Regions from separate parts of the Homo sapiens genome. Here regions 1, 3, 4, 5, 6 and 7 are each linked to region 2. Evidence: promoter capture Hi-C in human tissues and cell types (Jung and others, 2019). All regions are on one chromosome and are shown on one strand. The core of a region is centred on a gene start or on the middle of the fragment in contact, and the rest is flanking DNA. Distances in the headings are between cores, read along the strand shown.

Region 1 (2,700 bases), core at 80-2,579, 1.4 Mb after region 2:
GTTACTTATATTAACATTATTGCTTCTATTAAATAATAGATTAGTCCAATGTGATGTTAGGAGTTCAGTAGAGTGATTAGAGTCTAAGACAGTTAGATGTTGAGCTTAAATGCTTTATTAATTGGTGGCTGTTTTGGGGCCAACTATGGTGGTAACATTTTTTACTCTCCGTAGGAAGGTTGTTTCCTAGGGTCTAAAGAGTTGTCCCTCTTTAGACTAACAGTTAAACTTACAGGAAGATTTAGTAATTCTGTGGGTAAGTTTAAATTTGAATTAAGATTCCATCTTGGACAACCAGCTATCACCAGGCTCTCGGTAGCCTTGTCACCGCTACTCATGAATCTTCTCACTATTTTGCCACACAGGTGAGTGTGCTCTTTTAGCTATTCTTGGGTAGCCTGTCTGGTTTCGGGGGACTTGGCTATAGCTCTCTGTGTAAAGTTATTTCTCTTTAATACATTACGCAGAAGGTATAAGGGTTTGTCTTTGTTTTTGAATGGTTGATACAGTTCTTTTATCTCCTTATTTGAAGAATGAGAAGGTTATCATAAGAATTGATGGGAAAAGTCAACTAAAATAATACATCTTGTGAAAGGAAACAACTGGAGAAGATATTCCACACTTTCTAGGGATTGAGACAATCCAAAGACTAATTTAGATCGCCATCTAAACTATTTAAGACCTGAGTGTCAGCAGAGAGTTAAGTAGCTCATTTCAGTGGCATTGGAAGATCCAAGATATAAACAGCAGCAGAAAAAAAAGTGAAATTGGGAAAATGAAAAAAATACACTAGCTTTCTATAGTATCTATTGATTATTAATCAACTTCAGTGATTAATGTTTTATCACTAAAGTAATATTCCAACTAAGGATACTTAGACTATTCATATAGGAGTATCATAAGTTAATTGATTTGTTTATGGTTGAATATATAGTTTATAATTAGAATCCACCTCTGTTTTCATCTACATTACCTTGTGGTTACGGGAAAAAAGAAAGAAGCATATTGAATAAAATGAGAGGAGAAGAGAAAAATAAAAAGATGTTTACCAGGAGGGCTGATTCTAGACACATTCTACTATGGCCTGAGATCTCTGCTGAATTATTTAAGTGTAACCCAAACATGACTGGGAGCTATGTGATACAAGCAACCTATTATCAGAAATCAGAGGTGTTGATTACTACTTCTAATATGGTTTGGCTGTGTCCCTACCCAAATCTCACCTTGAATTGTAATAATCCCCACATGTCAAGGATGGGGCAAGGTGGAGATAATTGAATTATGGAGGCAGTTTCCTTTACATTGTTCTTGTGGTAGTGAATAAGTCTCATGAGATCTGATGGTTTTATAAATGGGAGTTCCCCTCATAAGCTCTCTTGCCTGCTGCCATGTAAGATGTGCCTTTTTCTTCCTTTTCCTTCCACCATGATTGTAAGGCATCCCCCAGCCATGTGGAACCATGAATCCATTAAACCTCTTTTCTTTATGAATTACCCAGTCTTTGGTATATCTTTGTTAGCAGCATGAGAACAGATTAATACAATTTCTTACATTGGTACTCAATAACTGCCATTTAATGATCATTTTAACTTCTGCATCCATTTTCACTTCTTAAAATTTTTACTTCAAGGAAAATAAACAGAATTAACTGAGATAATGAATATGGCAATGCCCAATATATCAACATTTGTCAGCAAATGATTTTGGAATGTTATCTAACCTGATCCTCACTCCGATTTATGGAGAAGATTTGATTGTGTCATTCTTAATATAAATTCCTAGAGGTCATAAAAGAACACTTCTAATTGTTTTTGCATACCTCTCATTTTCTTCAGAATTCATTAATAAGAACTTACACCCCTTAAATGAAGAATTTTTGTACTCAAGAAGAAACATAGATATAATATGTATTATGTTCTAGGCCTTTTACGAGCTTATGATCAAACTGAGAAGAGAACAATTGAGATTTCAGGGTATGGTTCTAAGTGTTATAAATCTTCAGAGAAAGGAGATTAATGTCCACAAGAATACTCAGAGTAAACTCCATGGGACTGGCAGGATTTGGTTGAAATTTATTAGATAAGGAAAGAGGAGAAAGAAAGGCATTTGAAGGTCTCTGAAATAATTACAGCAATAGTATTAAGGCAGAAATTGGGTATGTCAGGGAGGATATTAACATTCATTGTGGGCCTGATATGCACAAAACCAACTGTCTACATGAAGTACACAAATTAATTTCCAAGTTAAATCTTCAAAACTGTAAGTGACATACATATTTTATTACTCAAAATAACTTTTGTGATAGATATTGCCTTCAGTATATTATATATAATCCCAAAGTGGGCTGACACCTCTCTGATCCTTTGGAGAGCAACAGGATTGCCTCACTGCTTGGATTCCACAATGACCTTAATAAGCACTAAGCTTCTTCCCAACCTTCATGAGAACTCTCCAAGTCCCTCTGCTCTTCTATTCCTGAGCTCTCACATGCTCTCCCTGTCCAATACTAACACCCAACACACCGGTGAACTGTTCTTTCTAACAGATTTCACTAAATATCCAGTCACACCAAGGTTTTGCCATTTTAGTTGCTTTATTGAAGCTGACACTTCAGATGAGTTGGTGAACGGTTCGTACTGAGCCTGACAAACTTCCCCACTTACCTGTTCCTCTTCTTCCTACCTCACGCACTCTAGTTCA
Region 2 (2,830 bases), core at 293-2,792:
TGAGTGCCATCTTGCTGGGAGGTTCCAGAAGCAAAGCGCCAACGACGACAGTAGCGGTGGCCTCAGCTCCACCAGTAACTGCCGCTGGCAGGAGCACCACACGCTCTAGGAGTTTCCCGGGTATCAAGTATGGGTCCAGCCCGTCCCAGTTATCCTCTTCCCCTATGGCTTCATTCCCGTTGTCAGTACCCCGACCTCAGCTTGCAACCTTGATCTTGGGCTTGATTATAAATGACGAAAGACCGCGGCAGCCTTCAAAGTGCGGGAGCGAGCCCCGTACTGGTCAGCGCGGCGGAGGGATCTTTCCAGGAGGCCCCAAGCCCCCAAGCCTGTGGAGAGACTTGGTAACAGCTGGCAAGGCCTGCTCCAGCCACCCTCGCTGGCTCCTTGCCCCTGCATTCAGCGCCTGAGGGCGTTATTCGCCCTCTCCCTGCGTCCCACGCAAGCGGCTCAAGGAACTCACTCGATCCGGATTCCGCCTCGTATGCTCTCCAAGCCTTCGCCACCTCCGCAGGCGCTCTAGAAAGGCGTGATGGCCCCAGCTCAGTGCCCGCCAGCCCGAAGAGGACAAGCAGGGCTGGAAGGGACTTGGTTTTGGAAAAAGCCCCACCCGCCCCCACCAACTGGAAGGAAAAGGAATTAGTATCCACCGCATCTGTTTAACTGCTAATAGATCCCAGATTACGGGCAGGTAGTAGGTTGGTGTCTTTAGATACAACAGCCTGATAATAACGCTGGTGACATTAACAACAGCTTGTGGAGGGGAGAGGGTTGTTACTGGTGAAAGTTAAGAGATTCAATCTAGGGAAGTAGGAGACTGAACTCTGACAAGGTTAGGGGCACTGAGAACCCCAATTTAGCATCGATGCATCTACCAGGCAAGAAAATTTGCGTTTTGACCCAGAACTCAGTCATGATGCTCCGTAGAGGAGGTGGATTCGACCAGCAGACAGATGTCCCCAAAGTCGAGAGAGAGCTAAGCTGCCTATTTTCTCTCCAGGTGAAAGACAAAGCCTAGAGCACCCCACTTAAGATGACCACCCCCAGCTCTTTCAAAAAAAAAAAATCCCCCGAAGAGACAGCGTGGTGCCAGCGTAGCAGCAGCTCGGCCGGTTACTGGAAACTTCACCTGGCAACGCAGCCCCTTTTACCTGACGGCTGCGTCTTCTCCTTGCAATGGGCTCATCCGAATCCGACAGGGTCAGGGAGGTGGAAAGGGAAGACGCTGGCGCGGCAGCAGCGGGGATCCCGGGGCATGGTATTGTTTTAGGGGTCGCCGCCGAGGTCCCTCCTGCCCATCGTTGAGAACTGCCACCCTGATCCCAGGGCTCGGTGGACACGGCGGCGGGAGCGGAGATGCCGCCTCGCCGCTGCTGGGCACCAGGGACGGAGGACCAGAGGCGCACCTCGGAAAGGAGTAGCTCAGCGCCTTGGCGCGGAGATTTGCGGGCACTGATGATATCTCGAGCGCTCGTTCCTCCGCGGTGACAATGGATAATGCCAAACGCGCAAGTGACGGCGACAGGTTTCGAACGTACAACTAACTACAAGGTACCCAGCCTGAGACAGTATGCTGCTTTTCCCCTCCTCCTCCTCTCCCTCCTACCAGGGAGGGAACTAACTTAACCCTGTGTGCGCCTGACACTCCCTAGAGAAGCTGGGATCGACTAGGAAACCGCAGGCAGCGGCTCCCGGGGGCGAGAGCTTTGTTCACGTGCGTTTCCAGTGGGTGTGTTGCTGTCTAGGGGCACTCGCGTGGCAAGACGCCCGTGGCTGGCTTCCAGCGCCCAAGATTCAAGGAAGGGAAGGAGCCCTAGCGTTTCATCCGGACCAGACCCAGCCCTCGGAGTCTATTTTTTGCCTCCAGTTACCGGATTTATTGAAGTTGCCAGCGAAGTTGGTTTTATTCCTTTACTTCTCTGCTCTCCGCCCCCGTCCACATCCCCCAACCCTGTATTATTTCCTGTCCTAGCTGCGCTTTAAAGATTCGGAACTTTTCACTCGTTCTAGCTACAGATTTTAACTGTGTTCCGTGTGCGAGACGAATTGTGGAGGGCACCCACCCACCCATGCCAAGTGTAAATGAAACCGCAAGAAAAGCTGCCTCCCACTCACCCATCCAGTGTCCGAGTAAGCCTAATGACACACATTCACATAACTAAGAAGACACGGGAAGATAGGGGTGCGGAGGACGGAGTTTGATGTGTGAATGGGAAATGGAGAGAGGGGACAGCGCGCGCGAGAGAAACAGCGCGAGCCTGAGCCTTAGAATGGAATAAACGGGAAACACACACAAGAATGACGATGCAAAAAATGTATCTAAGTCCCAACATTGACAGCAGAGGGTCAGCTTTAAGCGCCTACATTTTGATCCGCGAAATTTCCCAGCTTTTTTGGAGGCGGTTACATAGAGAACACAGGAGCCTCTGCCTTGGCCGCCCAGATGCTTTGCATTTTGTAAACAGCTTTGACTAAGTGCTCTGGACTTCCAAGAAGTTAACTGGAGTGGAAGGCGAGTCATATTGTGGATGCGGAATGGAAGCTTAGACAAGAAAAAACTGTCAGCAGAGCGCCTCTGCTCTCACCGTCACACCCAAATGAGCCAGGACGTCGCTCAGAGCGCAAACTGAGATCCACACAGGGACATCTTCAACCGAATCTTTCTTCTGTCTCCATTCCGGACTAAGGAAAGAAAGAAAGAAATACGGAGCCTTTATAGAGTATTCAGAGGCTACACACATGGATCTTGCTGAAACGGAGTTATTTAAAAACAGAGAAAGTGTGTTTTCCCATGAGATAGATGTTATAGTTTCTCTCTGAAACATACCCA
Region 3 (2,700 bases), core at 38-2,537, 1.5 Mb before region 2:
GAAAAAAAAAAAAATTAAAAAGAGAATTTTCTCTAATAATTTCAATACAAAGCCTCAGATTCGACTCTTGTGTGTTAATTTTAGACCAAATTTAATCATATGTCTACACCGGATCTTGGCAAACAGAATGTCAAGTTGGCTTTGATTTGGATCACATGTATATTTCTGGAGCTAAGGTTAGCCCCAAAACCTTATGGAAAGAAAAGGAAAAAGGTAACTTCCTAAAGGAAATTCAACCAACACTAGGCAGTAGGAACAACAGATGTCTATCAAAATAAAGAACAAAACAACTAGTTCCACAGTCATTCATCACTTTACCTATTTTGTACAACAGTTTTAATAGAAATGCTAGAATGATTCTATCTTGTTCACTGACATTTATTTCAATAAACACTGAATTCTAGAAAAAATTTGAGATGGAATCATAGATTTTTTTAGGGTAAAATTTCTACTAAATTTCCATTTGTGTCTCAGAGAAAATGGCTCCAACTGGATTTTTCTTAAATAAACAGCCTATTAAATATTTCCACTGTAAAAATCTATTCCAGAGGACAACTAACTCCTGCACCTGTTTCTTTAAATAAATGTTTTCTTGTATCTTTGGTTTTTACTACTCCTATAATGCTTCTGAGTATTATACATTATACAGTATCTGAGAGACCATTTCTATTTCACCAGACTTAATTCAAGGCAGCCAAATTAAATCATCTCAGTGATTTAGGAATTTCCCAAGAAGACCTTCAGACCTCAAATTAAAAGGAGTCAACTTAAGTGCTTAATTGTTTTACAGATTTTTTCTTCATTGATTTTAATTAAGGTCTTCCTTGTCTTCTGAGCTTGGAGGACTTTTATTATCCTTTGAAATAACTTTATTTGAAGTCAGGTTGGCCAACAAGTCACACAGACTTAATAATTTTACAGGAGCAAGTTATCTTGATATATCGGGAAACAAAAATCCACCTTCCCTTGTCAGTGAGACTTAAAACTGCATATTGATTTCTTTTAAACATCAATTGAGTACCTAAGAGGAGGTAGCAATTCTAGGGAATGTGACATATCAGAGCCCAAAACTGTGGGTACAACCTTGGAGAAGGAAATTGGCTGTAAGCAACTGACCTCTAAGTTTCCCTGTAACAATTCATTTTGTAACTCTTCAAATAAGATAGTTGTTTGGCTCATTTTCCTAGGGCTGGAAGAGCTTCTGCAAGCTTTATCATTAGCTTTCCCAAGTGCAATGGTAACAGCCAGTCTAGGTGCCCTTCCCCTTTCAAGGGGCTGATAGAAGCGAAAAATGTGTTCAACACAGTCTTCTGTTTAAAAGGGGGCAGATTTGAGGTTAGATAGCCTGGGTTTCATGTCCCTGGTCTGCCATTCACCAGTGTGTAGCATGAGATAATTACATATCCTCTCCAAGTCTGAGTGCTGAAATCTGAGAAATGGGGAGAACAATATTATCTACTTCAAATTTGTTTAGTGTCCTCTTCAATTCATTTTTTGAGAATGACGTGGTGTATCTAATATTTATAGGTATGTAAACTTTGTGTGACATATATAATAAAATTCTTTTGTACAAAATAAAAGGAAGAAGGTGTAGTATGTTAGTTATGGTTCTCCAGAGAAACTTAATGAGGAATTGTCTCACATGATTATGGAGACTGAGGAGTGCCACAGTCTGCCATCTGCAAGCTGCATAACTGGAATAAGCCAGTGGCCACGGGTGTAATTCAGTCAGAGTCCAGAGACTTGAGAATCAGGGAGTCAATGGTATGAATTTCAGTCCAAAGGTAGAAGAGGAAATAAGCTGACCCAGTGCACGCAGTAAAACGGAAAAAAAAAAGAAAAAGTGAGTTTCTCCTTCATCCGCCTCTTGTATTCTTCAAGTTCTCAACAGATTGGATGATACCCACCACATTGAAGAAGGCAATGTGCATTACTAAATCCACTAATTCAAATGCTAAGGTTATCCCAAAGCACCCACACAGACACACCACAAAACGGTGTTCAATCGGGGCACCCTGTGGTCCATTCAAGTTGACATAAAATTAACAATCACAAGGTAAATATCTTGCATGGTGAATGATCAGGGCAGGAATGGATGAAGGCCAGATAATGCAGCAGGTCTCATAGTTGCTAAATAGCAAGATTTTATTTGGTGGAGATGTAGCAGAGATTAGTCATAGACTCCCTTTATTTTAGATTCTTTCACTTGAAAATCCCCTTTGTACAGGCCCTATTCCCTGAGGGCCTTTAATATGCTTATTGCTTTAAAGATTGTGTTTTTTTTAAATAACATAAATCACATGGAGTAATAAAACAATGTTTACATATAAAAATTATGAATAAATGTTAAGTATTAGTATCATCATATCACTATTATTATTATTTTCTCTATTATCTTCTCTCCATGCCTCTCATATTAAAGATATGAACATAAGCTTGCATAAGTCACCCAGAGGGAGGCTTGTAGACTCTGGGAATAAATCTAGGTGTTCTCCACTCCTCAATCCTTGTCTAGCATTTTATATTTTCTACAGAAACTCATTCAATCACATCAGATGCAGCTAAAAGTCTGATGACCCCGACACATCAGACACATCCTCAATTAGTAAAACAGTCACATCTAAAAGTCCTTCTATCTCTCTTAAATCCTGCCAATTGTCCTGAGAAGACCACTGAGCCTCCATTTGCATAAATTACCAC
Region 4 (2,700 bases), core at 133-2,632, 1.1 Mb after region 2:
CTTGAAATCTTTTACAAAGGAAACATGAGTGGGGCCAAGAAAAAAAGGGAGGAAGCAGAGTTGCTATTTAATGGAGAATGGCACACATATGCCTTCTAAGATGATCAACTTCTACAGTACCAGGGAAGAGTTCCTTTGGTGTGTGATTTTTCTCCTCCTCCTATTGTTCTTCCTCCTTCTTTTGGTTTACTTTTATTTCTAGGGTAAAGGAATGACAAATGAACTCAGATTGAATGTGACTGTAACCACATGGTAAAAGATCACAGTTCACCCTGTTTATATATTGAAATGGAGGACACTTTACCACAGCAGAGTTGAAGTAACTTTCAACCATGTTCTTAACACATACAAAACTATCATTAGAACAAACTAAATTTGGGATGTTGTTTATGCAAGGAAGTTTTTCTAAATTTACTGAGTGTATCTGTTGAGTTGGAGTTGAAGGAAACCAGGTTGTCCAGCAGAAATGCAGCTATGGGGCAATCGATTAGAAATCGATTACTTAGAAATGTTCAAGCAATGAAAACATGAACTTTCGACAAAGCTCAAGTGTCTTGATTCAGAGTTTGTTTTCTAGATTACAGCATATTTCAGTTAACTTGAAGTTTGAATGTGTGCATAAGGGTATTTTCACAATTAATCTCAAACTTGTTAAGTTCACAAAAATCCTCTTAATGGATAGAAATGGCTTAGAGGTGAATATGGAGACTATACCAGGAAAAACAGGGAATTAATTTGCCTTCTTTTATGAAGAATTTTCTTTACTTCTAATATAGCTATCAGAAATATACAAATATCTTGCTTTGTGTTTGTCTTTCATAAGATATGTTTCTAGATGCTCATTGGTCTATTTTTTCTTCTGTGAGCAGAAGTTTAAACCTTGTAGGAATGAAAGCTTCATTTTATATTATTTTTATGGCATAGATTACATTAATAGATAGGGTGTATGTGAGTGTGTGTGTTAGTATTCGATGTAAAATAAAGACTTCCATATCTAAATGCTACTGAAAGTTGTAGTATAGTAGTTCCTGTCTAAATACTGGATCTCCTTGTGTACAATTCTCACATCTGTATTCAAATTTTGTATATTTGGATTCGTTTCCCAAAACCCTAAGAATTTTCATTCTAACAGATACAAGCTATTCTTATTTACAGTATTTAGAAAAGAAGAAAAATAAGTAGTAGGGAGTGGTATGAACAGAATATGGAAGCAAATTTTTGAGGCATGATCAGGGTAGCCTTTTCTATAGCAACACTGGGAGAGATTCAAAGTTAAGTTCCATGTGGCGTGGTGGCTCATGGCTGTAATTCCAGCACTTTGGGAGGCCAATGCGGGTGGATCACTTGAGGTCAGAAGTTCGAGACCAGTTTGGCGAACATGGTGAAACCCCGTCTCTACTTAAAATACAAAAATTAGCTGGGTGTGGTGGAGGGCCCCTGTAATCCCAGCTACACAGGAGGCTGAGGCAAGAGAATTGTTTGAACCCAGGAGGCAGAGGCTGTAGTGAGCTGAGATGGCACCACTGCATTCTACCCTGGGTGACAAAGGGAGACTCCAACTCAAAAAAAAAAAAAAAAAAAAAAGTTAAGTTTGATCTACAACCAAACCACTATGCTTGTAAGGGAGGAAGATGGGACAATTTTAATAAGCTCTTGGAGAGTTCAGTAGATTCTAAAATACTGGAATCGATTTCTGAGTCAGCAAACCAAAGATGTGAAACATTTAGTGGATGGCAGATGGGAAGAGTTGTCTATGTCAGGGTTTCTGCTAGTCCCTGTTTCAGGTGCTCCATATTCATTACCCTTTTTAACCTTTCCATCTCTTTTATAAAATGGGTATTATTTCTGTTTTATATGGTTAAAAAGTTAACAAAAATTAAATTAAAACTTTTAAGAATTTATTTGTATGTTTGGATATAATGGCAGGCAAGCAAAAAAAAAAATACCAATGACATATAAGGCCTCAGTCTTGAGAATAGGAGAATATTTTAAAAAATCATATCTATTTGACAGCTTCCTTTTACTTTAGCATTAGTCCATTCCATGAGTCAGTGTTCACCAGGTTTCACTAACTAACAAATAGTGACTGGTTGTAATTCTCCCTTTGTTCTCATAGTTAAGAGCAGTGTTTGGGTCTTAGGCAATAAGTTAAGTTAGTTGTTTTAAAATCTGATGACTGGAAAATAGTTTCCAAATAATTAACCTTTAACATGTTAACTTTTACCTTTTAAAGTTTTTCTTATAGTTTTATTTACTATATTTTCATAAACTATAGTGAAAGATTTAAAGAGGCAGAAAAGTAAGGGTACTCCTTGTGTACATCATCATTTTCTCACAAAACTAGAGATGTGAAGCATATCTCAGTATCATAAATAGAAGAATTAACACATACAGTTATTAGGTGCTGCATTATTCTAAGCACTCTACATATATTAACTTATTTAATACTCACAACACCCCTTTGAGGTAGGTATTTTTAGTACTTTAGTTTGACAAATGAGTAAATTAAGGCACAATGAGGTCAAATATTTTTCCTAAGATTATAAAGCTGGTAAGTGGCAGAGGTGTGTTTTAAACCCAGGCCATCTGATACCAGAATCTGCATTCATACCTATCATGCTATGATTTGCAGCTTCTCTAAATGCATAGTAATCCTTGCCTCTGTCAGATCCTCAATGGCCATGGCTTTATTTTAAAACA
Region 5 (2,700 bases), core at 91-2,590, 1.1 Mb after region 2:
ATACTTTTTGTTACTATAATTTCTGAACCTGGGTAATTTAGAAAGAAAAAGGGTTTGGTTCATGGTTCTGCTGGCTAGAGGGTTCAAGATTGGGCATCTGATAGGCTGCTTTCTCTCATGTCAAAAGGCAAAGGAGAACTGATGTATGCAGATAGCACATAGTGAGGGAAGAAACGAGGAGGGAGGGTGACAGGCTCTTTTCAACAATCAGCTTTCATGGAAACTAGTAGAGCAAGAACTCACTCACCCCGAGAGAGGGCATTAATCTATTAATTAAATATTCACCCCCATGACCCAAACACCTCCCATCAGTCCCCACTTCCAACATTGGGCACCAAATTGCAATCAAATTTCAACATGGGATTTTGTGGGGTCAAATATCCAGTCTTAGCAAAGTTTTTGTCTATTTCAATGTTTTCTTGGTGTTGTTGTTATTGTTTTTGCTATAGATTTGTAGAAGTTCTGGATACTGTTGTCATTGTCAGTTTAGGCTGTTTTAACAAAAATTCCATAAACAAAAAGATTTATTATAATTCTGGAGGCTGGGAAGTTCAAAATCAAGGTCCTGGCCTATTTGGTTTCTGGTGAAGGCCGGCTCCCTTCCTGTTTTGCAAACAGACACCTTTTTTGTTGCATCTTCCCATGGCAGAAAAAAAAAATCCCTCTCTAATCTCTTCTTATAAAATCACCAATCCCATTTACGATCATTCCAACCTCATGTCCTGTGGACTTTTCATATGTGACTCTTGCCATGATGAGGTCATTTTCTTTTATTCCTAGTTTGTTGAGTGTTTTTATTAGGAAAGCATGTGGAATTTTGTAAAATGTTTTTTTTTAATGTATCAAGATAATTGTGTGAATCAATTATGTTATTATGGTATATTGCAGTGATTAATTTTCATATGTTGACTTGTTCATGGTGTGTAATCCTTTATGTATGCAGCTGAATTGGGTTTGCTACTGTCTTGAAGATTTTTGCATCTCTGTTTTTCAGAATTGTTGGCCTGTAAGGTTTTTTCTCTTCATTTATTTGTCTGGCTTTGGTATAAGGCTAGCCTCAGAAAAAAATTTGTTTGTTTCTTGCTACAATTTTTGCTAAGAGATTGAGAAGGATTGGCACTAACTCTTCTTAAATGCTTAGCAGAATTGACCAGTGAAGACATTTGCTCCTGAGCTTTTCTTGGTTGGCATATTTTTATTACTAATTTAATATTCTTACTTGTAATTGATCTGTTCAAATTTCCTGTTACTTTGTGACTCAGTCTTGGTAGGTTGCATGTTTCTCGAAACTTATCAATTTCTTCTAAGTTATCCAATTTGTTGGTATGTAATTGTTCATGGTAGATTTTTATGATCATTTTGATTACTTTGGCATCAGTTGTAATAACTCCTCTTTGATTTATGATTTTATTAATGAGCCTTCTTTTTCTAGACTATGAAAAGATTTGTCAATTTGTTGATCTTTTCAAAAAATTAACTAATTTTAAAAACACCATCATTAATTTTTTTCTATCCTTTATTGTGTTTATTTCTGCTCTAATATTTCTTCCTTCCTTCTGCTAAATTTTGGCTTGTTTTGCTCATTTTCTGTGTTCTTATGGTATGAAGTTAGGTTTTTATTTGAAAGCTTTCTTTCTTACTGATGTAAGCAATTATTGATATAAATTTGCCTCTCAGTACTGCTTTTGCTAAGTCCCATAAGTTTTAGTATATTCTATTTTTGCTTACATTTGCCACTAGATACTTTCTAATTTCACTTTTTTTGTTTTTTTTAATCAATTGGTTGTTACAAGTTTGTTATTTTCCACATATTGGTGAACTTTTCAATTTTTCTTCTGCTATTAATTTCTAGTTTTATTTTATTGTGGTCAGAAATAATACTTGATATTATTTCAGTCTCCTTAAATTGATTAAGACTTGCTCTGTGGCCTGACATGTGACATGTGATCCATTCAGGAGATGTTCCACGTGCACTTGAGAAGAATGTATCTTCTGCTGCTGTTGGGGTGAAATATTCTGTATGTCTGTTAGATCCATTTTATCTACAGGACTGTTCATGTCTTCTGTTTCCTTTTTGATCTCCTGTCTGCATGTTCTATCAAATATTGAAAGTAGAATATTAAAATCTTCTACTGTTATTGTGTTGCTATTTATTCCTCCTTCTGTTCTGTCAATGTTTGCTTCACATATGTAGATTCTCTGATGTTGAGAGCATATTTATTTATAATTGCTATAGTATTCCGTGAATTGATCTTTTATCAGTATAGAATATCCTTCTTTGTCTCTTGTGACAATTTCTGACTTTTAGTCAATTTTGTCTGATATAAATATACCACCCCTATTCTCTTTGGTTTATTATTTGTATTGAATAACTGTTTTTTTCCTTTCACTTTCACTCTATGTGTGTTTGTAAACATAAAGTGCATCTCTTTTTGCCAAACTTAGATTTTGTTATATAGCATAAAGTTGGATTTTGTTATTTTACTCATTCATCCACTCTATGTCATTTGATTCAGGAGTGTAGGTTTTTGTTTTTACATTTAGAGTACAATCTTTTACCTTTACTTTTTTTTTACATTTAAATTCCCATTGTTAGATTATTATAGTATTATGTATTTGCAAATACATTTTCCATTACCAGTAAGCTTTCTACTTCTATAAACTCTCATGTTGCTGTTTAGTGCCTTTTTATGTCAACTT
Region 6 (2,796 bases), core at 75-2,574, 1.4 Mb before region 2:
TCAATCCATTTACCTTTGCTTGTAGTCTTGTCTGTCCATCAAAGCAATACTCACTCTGACCTGTATGTTGCCTGACATTTTTAGTCCTCTATTCCTTATTTCTCAGCACGATTTTAAACTGTGGATTACCGGCTTCTTCTGAAATATTACCATTACTTGGCTGCCATGACATGCTACTGGCGTTTGTTATAATGCATGTATAGCCCATGCTTCTCTGACTCCTTTGTCCACCCAGCCTTCTAGCCTGGGCTGCTTCATTATGGCATTCATCAGAGCTTGATTCTTGGTCCTTGGTCATTTGCTTTTTCTGCACCCTCCCTAGACAATCTTACTCATGTCCATGCAGTTACCACATATATACAGATGACTTCAAAATCTGAAAAACAGTGAGATGACTCCTCCAAACGCCAGCCATGTATCTTAACAGTTACTTTACATATTCCTCTTAATGTCTCAAAGACATTTTAAAAACTTACCAAAATTGAGCATATGCTCTCTACTCCTCAACCCACTTCAATGTTTTTTTTCTTCTTGTTTTTCTTTTCTCAACTAGCACTACCAGACGCCATGCTCTGGATTACCCCTATAACCAACACTAAATACATTGTGTATATACCCTCTCCTTGTAATTGTCAGCATCTTGGATCAAACTAGTATTATTTGTTTGTTGCATTAATTCAAAATCATTCTTACCTATGCACCCCTATGTACTAGGGTTCATCCACAACCTGCTGAGTGATATTTTCCAAATACAAATAGGCATATGTGACAACCCAATTCCTGCTCCTTGCTTAAAACATTCCAATGGCTTCTTAATGCTCTTTGGAAATTTATGAAACTCCCCATGCTTAAAGCTACGATGCTTCATGGTAAGCTGCACCACCTCACTGGTCTCCCTTGTTGCACATGCCCCTCTCTGCTCTAACCCACTGGCCTTGTTTATTCTCTTGCGCTCACTCTGCTCCCACCTGGAGAAGTCCTTTGCCCCACTAGTTCTTCTGATTAGGATGCTCTTCCATCTCTTTTTCACCAGGTTAATTCCTTTTCATTCTTTAGTGACAGTTCCCCTGGATAATTGTCACAGTGCTCTCTGACAAGGACAATTATCTCATTATATACTTTCAGAGCTCTCTATCTCTTTTTCATGCTAAATGTCATTTATACATCGATAATTTGATTAGTATCTTTGCCAATAGAATGCAAAATCTTCAAGGGAAAGGGCAATATTCATTTAAGATTACATCTAAATCCTCAAAGATCAATCAAATACCTGGCACTTAGTAATTGCTCAATTAACAATAAACAGTTAAATGAATGACTTAATGAAGGAAGGAAACATTTTTTTCCTAGTAATTTCACCCTGACAAATACATTACATTACACTGCTCGTTATTCGAGAAAACCTTGGAAATGAGTATACCTGTATCCCAAATATGCTTCTAGAGAAATTATTGATACCAGTACAGAGTTGAATAAGACATTACTGTGAAAGGCTAGATGTTATTAGGCTACATCTTGTCCATCAAGAGGGAATCTAGTGAATTAGGCGGCACGTACCTGGGTGGAAGTGATGGACTAGAGATCCTAAGACACTGTTGACATGCCAGAGACCAGGGTTCCCATAAAGACCAGGGACTGAAAAAAGCAAAACGTCTGGGAGCCAAAAGACCAAAGTAAAGGGTTCAGTCCGTGAGTCTATTTTCAGAGGCAGGATAGATGTGTTGTATCCAGACATCCAGGCTGACATTAAGCAGCTCATCAGAGGCTCAAACAGGGACAGTACTACTTCCCCAATGCTTGTTTGTAAATATGAAGAGAGATTTTTGGTTGCCACAATAACAGAAGGCTGTTACTGATATTTGATGGGTTCAAACTACAGTGCCAAATGCCCTGCAAAGGCACAGGGCAGTCTTGCACAATAAAGGGTTTCTTTACCCTGAATGCCAAGAGCTCCCCCTTGAAGAAATGCTGTTAGCCAACAAGCTCCTTGAGGACAGAGTTTATATTTTGTTCCTCTGGGTATTCTAGCGGCAAGTATAGTGCTTAATTGGCAGTGAATGCATATTGAAAATGGACTTCAGCTACTTGTCTGTGATCTAGATAAGAACGCATAAATGTATTAATTTATATTGATTCAGTGGTAGAGACAATAGGAACTCTTGTGTCTGAGCAGAGATTGCAAAGAACAGTCTTTTCTCAGTTGTAAAAAGAAAAGGTAATTAGAAATATCAGAAATGATAAGTTATAGAGATGAAAGTGGTAAAAGCAACAATAAAAACTGATATTTATATAGGATTTTAATTTCAATGCTTTACTAACTATATGGGCTGGAAATGGATTCAGTGGGTAGTTCCAGGCCTCCATGCCATCACTACTTAAGGCAGCATAGCCTCAGATGGATCCTGAGAAAACAGAAGGCATTTGTGTGTGTGTGTGTAGAGATGGGGCCTCACTATATTGCCCAGGCTGGTCTCAAACTCATAGACTTAAGCAATCCTCCTGCCTCTGTTTGCCAAATTGCTGGGATTACAGGCATGAGCCACTGTACCTGGCCCTGGAAGACATTTTTATGCATGCATGCATTTGTGGAAACGAGGAGAGGGTTAGAAAATATGGAATGAAAATAGAGAAAAAATAAGGGAAAATCACCTGCCCTTGGTTTTCAAAAGACCCACAAAACCAACCACTGCCCTCTGTGATGGAGACATTCTTTAGTCAGACTCAGTGTAATAGTTCTGAAGCAGCAAGGGTAATCGTATTGATTTTGAAGGAATGTCTGGTTAATTTTTCACAAGG
Region 7 (2,700 bases), core at 167-2,666, 1.7 Mb after region 2:
AAAAATTAATGCAAATGCTATAAGAATTCCGAATGAGAAAAAATTTACTTAGGTTGTGCTAAGATGGGTAAGGAAATACAGTAGAGAAACTTGCTGACATTTCTCCATAATAAATTTTTAGGCCCGATGAACCTAGTGACCCATATGGGATTATAATTAGTTAAAATGTGAAAATAGGTCTCATAGTACTTTCAGCCAATACAAGTTTTCTAAAAATAAAATGAATAGTAACCTCAGATATTGGAATAATTAATCTCACTTTATCGATTACTCCTAAATATATTGTATGAATGAGAATATAAAGATACTTGGATAGATAACTAGGCTCTTTAAAAGTGATTGGTTCCTACCCCGGTGATGGTGATCACACTGTAAAAAGGGAGAAATGATGTCTGTATGGGCTGAGATCCTTGCAAGAAACTCATCATGCAAGTGCCAGTTTTTATGATCATTGTATTCGATCAGCAGAATTTCTCAATGTGAGCAGAAGATGGGATCTTTTCATCTTCTTCGTTGTCTTCTTATGCTGTCAAACCTTTCTGGATTGCCCACTCTATTATCACCTTCTAATAACAGAGGAAGTGAATATCCAACTTCATAATGGAAGCATGCTGCCTACATTATTTTAGATGAAATGTATTCTTTCCTAGAGCAATCTGGGCTGCAGCTGTTTCTCTGCTGAAAACTACTTCAGCAAGTAAACAGTCAGGTTTTACTGATAGACTATCCCGTTTATAATATTCCATTTAATTGCTAGGCAGATATAAGCCGGTTCTCTTCTATACGTTTTCAAACTACAATGGTACAAAGAGAATTATAATAATACCCGACGTAATAGTTATCCAAAGAGAGATACTGCCATGTAAAAAATATTTAGTAACTGCATTAGGATTATGTTAGTGTGGTAAGGCATTATATTGCTAGAAGCAATTATAGCTTGCAATACACAAGAGCAATGACTTTAAGTGAAGAGAACAAGCTGAAGACCTGAAGTTTATGTGCGCGTCAATGTGTGGAGGAGGTATTTGTTTCTCAGGGAGGGGTGAAAGGAGGAGTTTAACTTACTGCATCAAACAAAAGGGGAGCATTTTTCCAGATGCAGCGCTTTGAGTTTTCAATGACAAAAATCATTATAAAGAAGCAAGGGAATAATTTACCATTATGGTTGGGGAAAAGAAATTTAAAAATAAAATAAATGTTTAAAAGAAGCAAGACAAAATAAAAATTGGTTTTAGATGGGGAAGGTAGAATAAATTCTCTTTTTAAAAAGCTCTAACAATAAATAAAATTGTTCATTATAGTTTAAAAAACCACAAATATCAATAATAAAGTTCTCACAGAAACCTCGTATTTCATATTCTAACAGTGTTTTAAGATTTGTATTTGAAAATGGAATTTCAGGGATTACTTTCTGCTTTTCTGTGGCTTGATGAATGAAGAAAGTAGAAACTGAGGATGATGCTACTGTAAGAACTTAAAGCATAACTCTCTCTTCTCCTTCCCAATAACAAAAGATATCCCAAAGCAAAAGAAGATAGCCTGCTGTGAAAGCTATCCAGGTATGAAACATATGTTAAAAATGTCTGATAAACATTTTAAAAATGTTTAATAGAAATGTTTAATTATTATTACTTTTTTAATCCAATTCCCAGAAAGCCAGTAACTCATATTTCTAGTGGAATTTCCCGTTTGCTTTCCCGGAAATCTGACCTTCCTCAATTTCCCATTGTTCACCAACTGTGGGAACTCTCTTGGGTTTGGATGACTTGAATCCTTGCACACATTCAGCCATGTGTGTGGGATCTCCTCCACTTACCCAAGTGAAACCTTCTATTTATGCTCTCATTCTCAACCTGGGTGCATGTGTGACAGAGAGCTTCTTACTGGTCTTTTAATTTTACTCAAAGATTTAGATAACTTTATACCCCAAATTAAACACATATATATTATGGGTAACAGTGAACCAAACACTTGCAAGGAAAATTTCCTTTTAAAAGTTAGGTATCCAGAGTCATCAGGCACAGGTTCTCTACCTTAAACTTACAGGAGGGCACTAGTGACAACGTTAAGGCTGCAAAGTCCTTCTTGACTTCCTTGGGCTAAATTATTAATCAATTATTGTGAACTGACAAAGAGCTTCATATCCACATTATTAAATTTATTTTGTATATTATAAAAATTTTCAATTTTCTTTCTTCTATTTGTGAACTTTTAACTGCCTTTTTTTGTAGAAGTGGTTTTGCCCTTGACCTTGAGAATAAAATAGTAGACACTAAATTGCATGTATTGGCATTCAGTGAAAATAATGGAAAGATCTGGGTCCTTATGTTGGCAACACCACTAACTGGGTGTTGTTTTGAGCCATAATTCTACATTCTCATACAATGTTCTAAATAAGCGTGGTCCATGAGGAGAGGGAATATCACAAGGTAGAGGTGGAAGATAACAGAAATATTTTAGGCATAAAATGGAAGAATCATACTGGAGGAGGGAAGGCAACATGTAAACTTTCTTCTATAATTGCATCAAGAACAGTTGAAAACATCCTAGCTCCACAGTTTTCTTTGCACATGACTTTTGGTAAAGCCTTAGTTTGGGAAAAGTGCATAGAATTATTCAGGGTCCCTGCCTGTCATCATGATTCCTTTGAGATGCTTCTTTCACTTCTGTGTTTCTTTACCTTTTTTTGTTGTTATTTTT

What was found. Contacts are between HindIII fragments. The study calls those that stand out against the background at their distance.
Region 1: a contact is called between a fragment that was not itself captured here and the fragment with the promoter of FLRT2 in region 2, in 2 of the 25 tissues and cell types used here (dorsolateral prefrontal cortex and lymphoblastoid cells).
Region 3: a fragment that was not itself captured here is called in contact with the fragment with the promoter of FLRT2 in region 2 in 1 of the 25 tissues and cell types used here (dorsolateral prefrontal cortex).
Region 4: a contact is called between a fragment that was not itself captured here and the fragment with the promoter of FLRT2 in region 2, in 2 of the 25 tissues and cell types used here (dorsolateral prefrontal cortex and mesenchymal stem cells).
Region 5: a fragment that was not itself captured here is called in contact with the fragment with the promoter of FLRT2 in region 2 in 1 of the 25 tissues and cell types used here (dorsolateral prefrontal cortex).
Region 6: a fragment that was not itself captured here is called in contact with the fragment with the promoter of FLRT2 in region 2 in 2 of the 25 tissues and cell types used here (dorsolateral prefrontal cortex and mesenchymal stem cells).
Region 7: a fragment that was not itself captured here is called in contact with the fragment with the promoter of FLRT2 in region 2 in 1 of the 25 tissues and cell types used here (heart left ventricle).

The regions. Positions count from the first base shown.
Region 1 is chr14:84,169,133-84,171,832 of GRCh38, reverse strand. No RefSeq gene overlaps it. Among named protein-coding and RNA genes, the nearest start is that of LINC02305, 260 kb to the right of the region's middle. The HindIII fragment of the contact is 4,006 bases long and covers 1-2,700 here.
Region 2 is chr14:85,528,856-85,531,685 of GRCh38, reverse strand. It overlaps FLRT2 (fibronectin leucine rich transmembrane protein 2), which reads right to left and starts at 1,542. Exons shown (of 2, transcript NM_013231.6): 1 at 1,152-1,542. FLRT2-AS1 (FLRT2 antisense RNA 1) reads left to right here and starts at 27. Exons shown (of 2, transcript NR_184170.1): 1 at 27-2,830. The HindIII fragment of the contact is 3,489 bases long and covers 1-2,830 here.
Region 3 is chr14:87,009,592-87,012,291 of GRCh38, reverse strand. No RefSeq gene overlaps it. Among named protein-coding and RNA genes, the nearest start is that of LINC01148, 110 kb to the right of the region's middle. RefSeq lists an enhancer at 2,361-2,700. The HindIII fragment of the contact is 4,134 bases long and covers 1-2,700 here.
Region 4 is chr14:84,461,791-84,464,490 of GRCh38, reverse strand. No RefSeq gene overlaps it. Among named protein-coding and RNA genes, the nearest start is that of LINC02305, 550 kb to the right of the region's middle. The HindIII fragment of the contact is 6,074 bases long and covers 1-2,700 here.
Region 5 is chr14:84,384,670-84,387,369 of GRCh38, reverse strand. No RefSeq gene overlaps it. Among named protein-coding and RNA genes, the nearest start is that of LINC02305, 470 kb to the right of the region's middle. The HindIII fragment of the contact is 3,461 bases long and covers 1-2,700 here.
Region 6 is chr14:86,898,025-86,900,820 of GRCh38, reverse strand. No RefSeq gene overlaps it. Among named protein-coding and RNA genes, the nearest start is that of LINC01148, 6.4 kb to the left of the region's middle. The HindIII fragment of the contact is 5,785 bases long and covers 1-2,796 here.
Region 7 is chr14:83,820,940-83,823,639 of GRCh38, reverse strand. No RefSeq gene overlaps it. Among named protein-coding and RNA genes, the nearest start is that of LINC02305, 93 kb to the left of the region's middle. The HindIII fragment of the contact is 6,578 bases long and covers 1-2,700 here.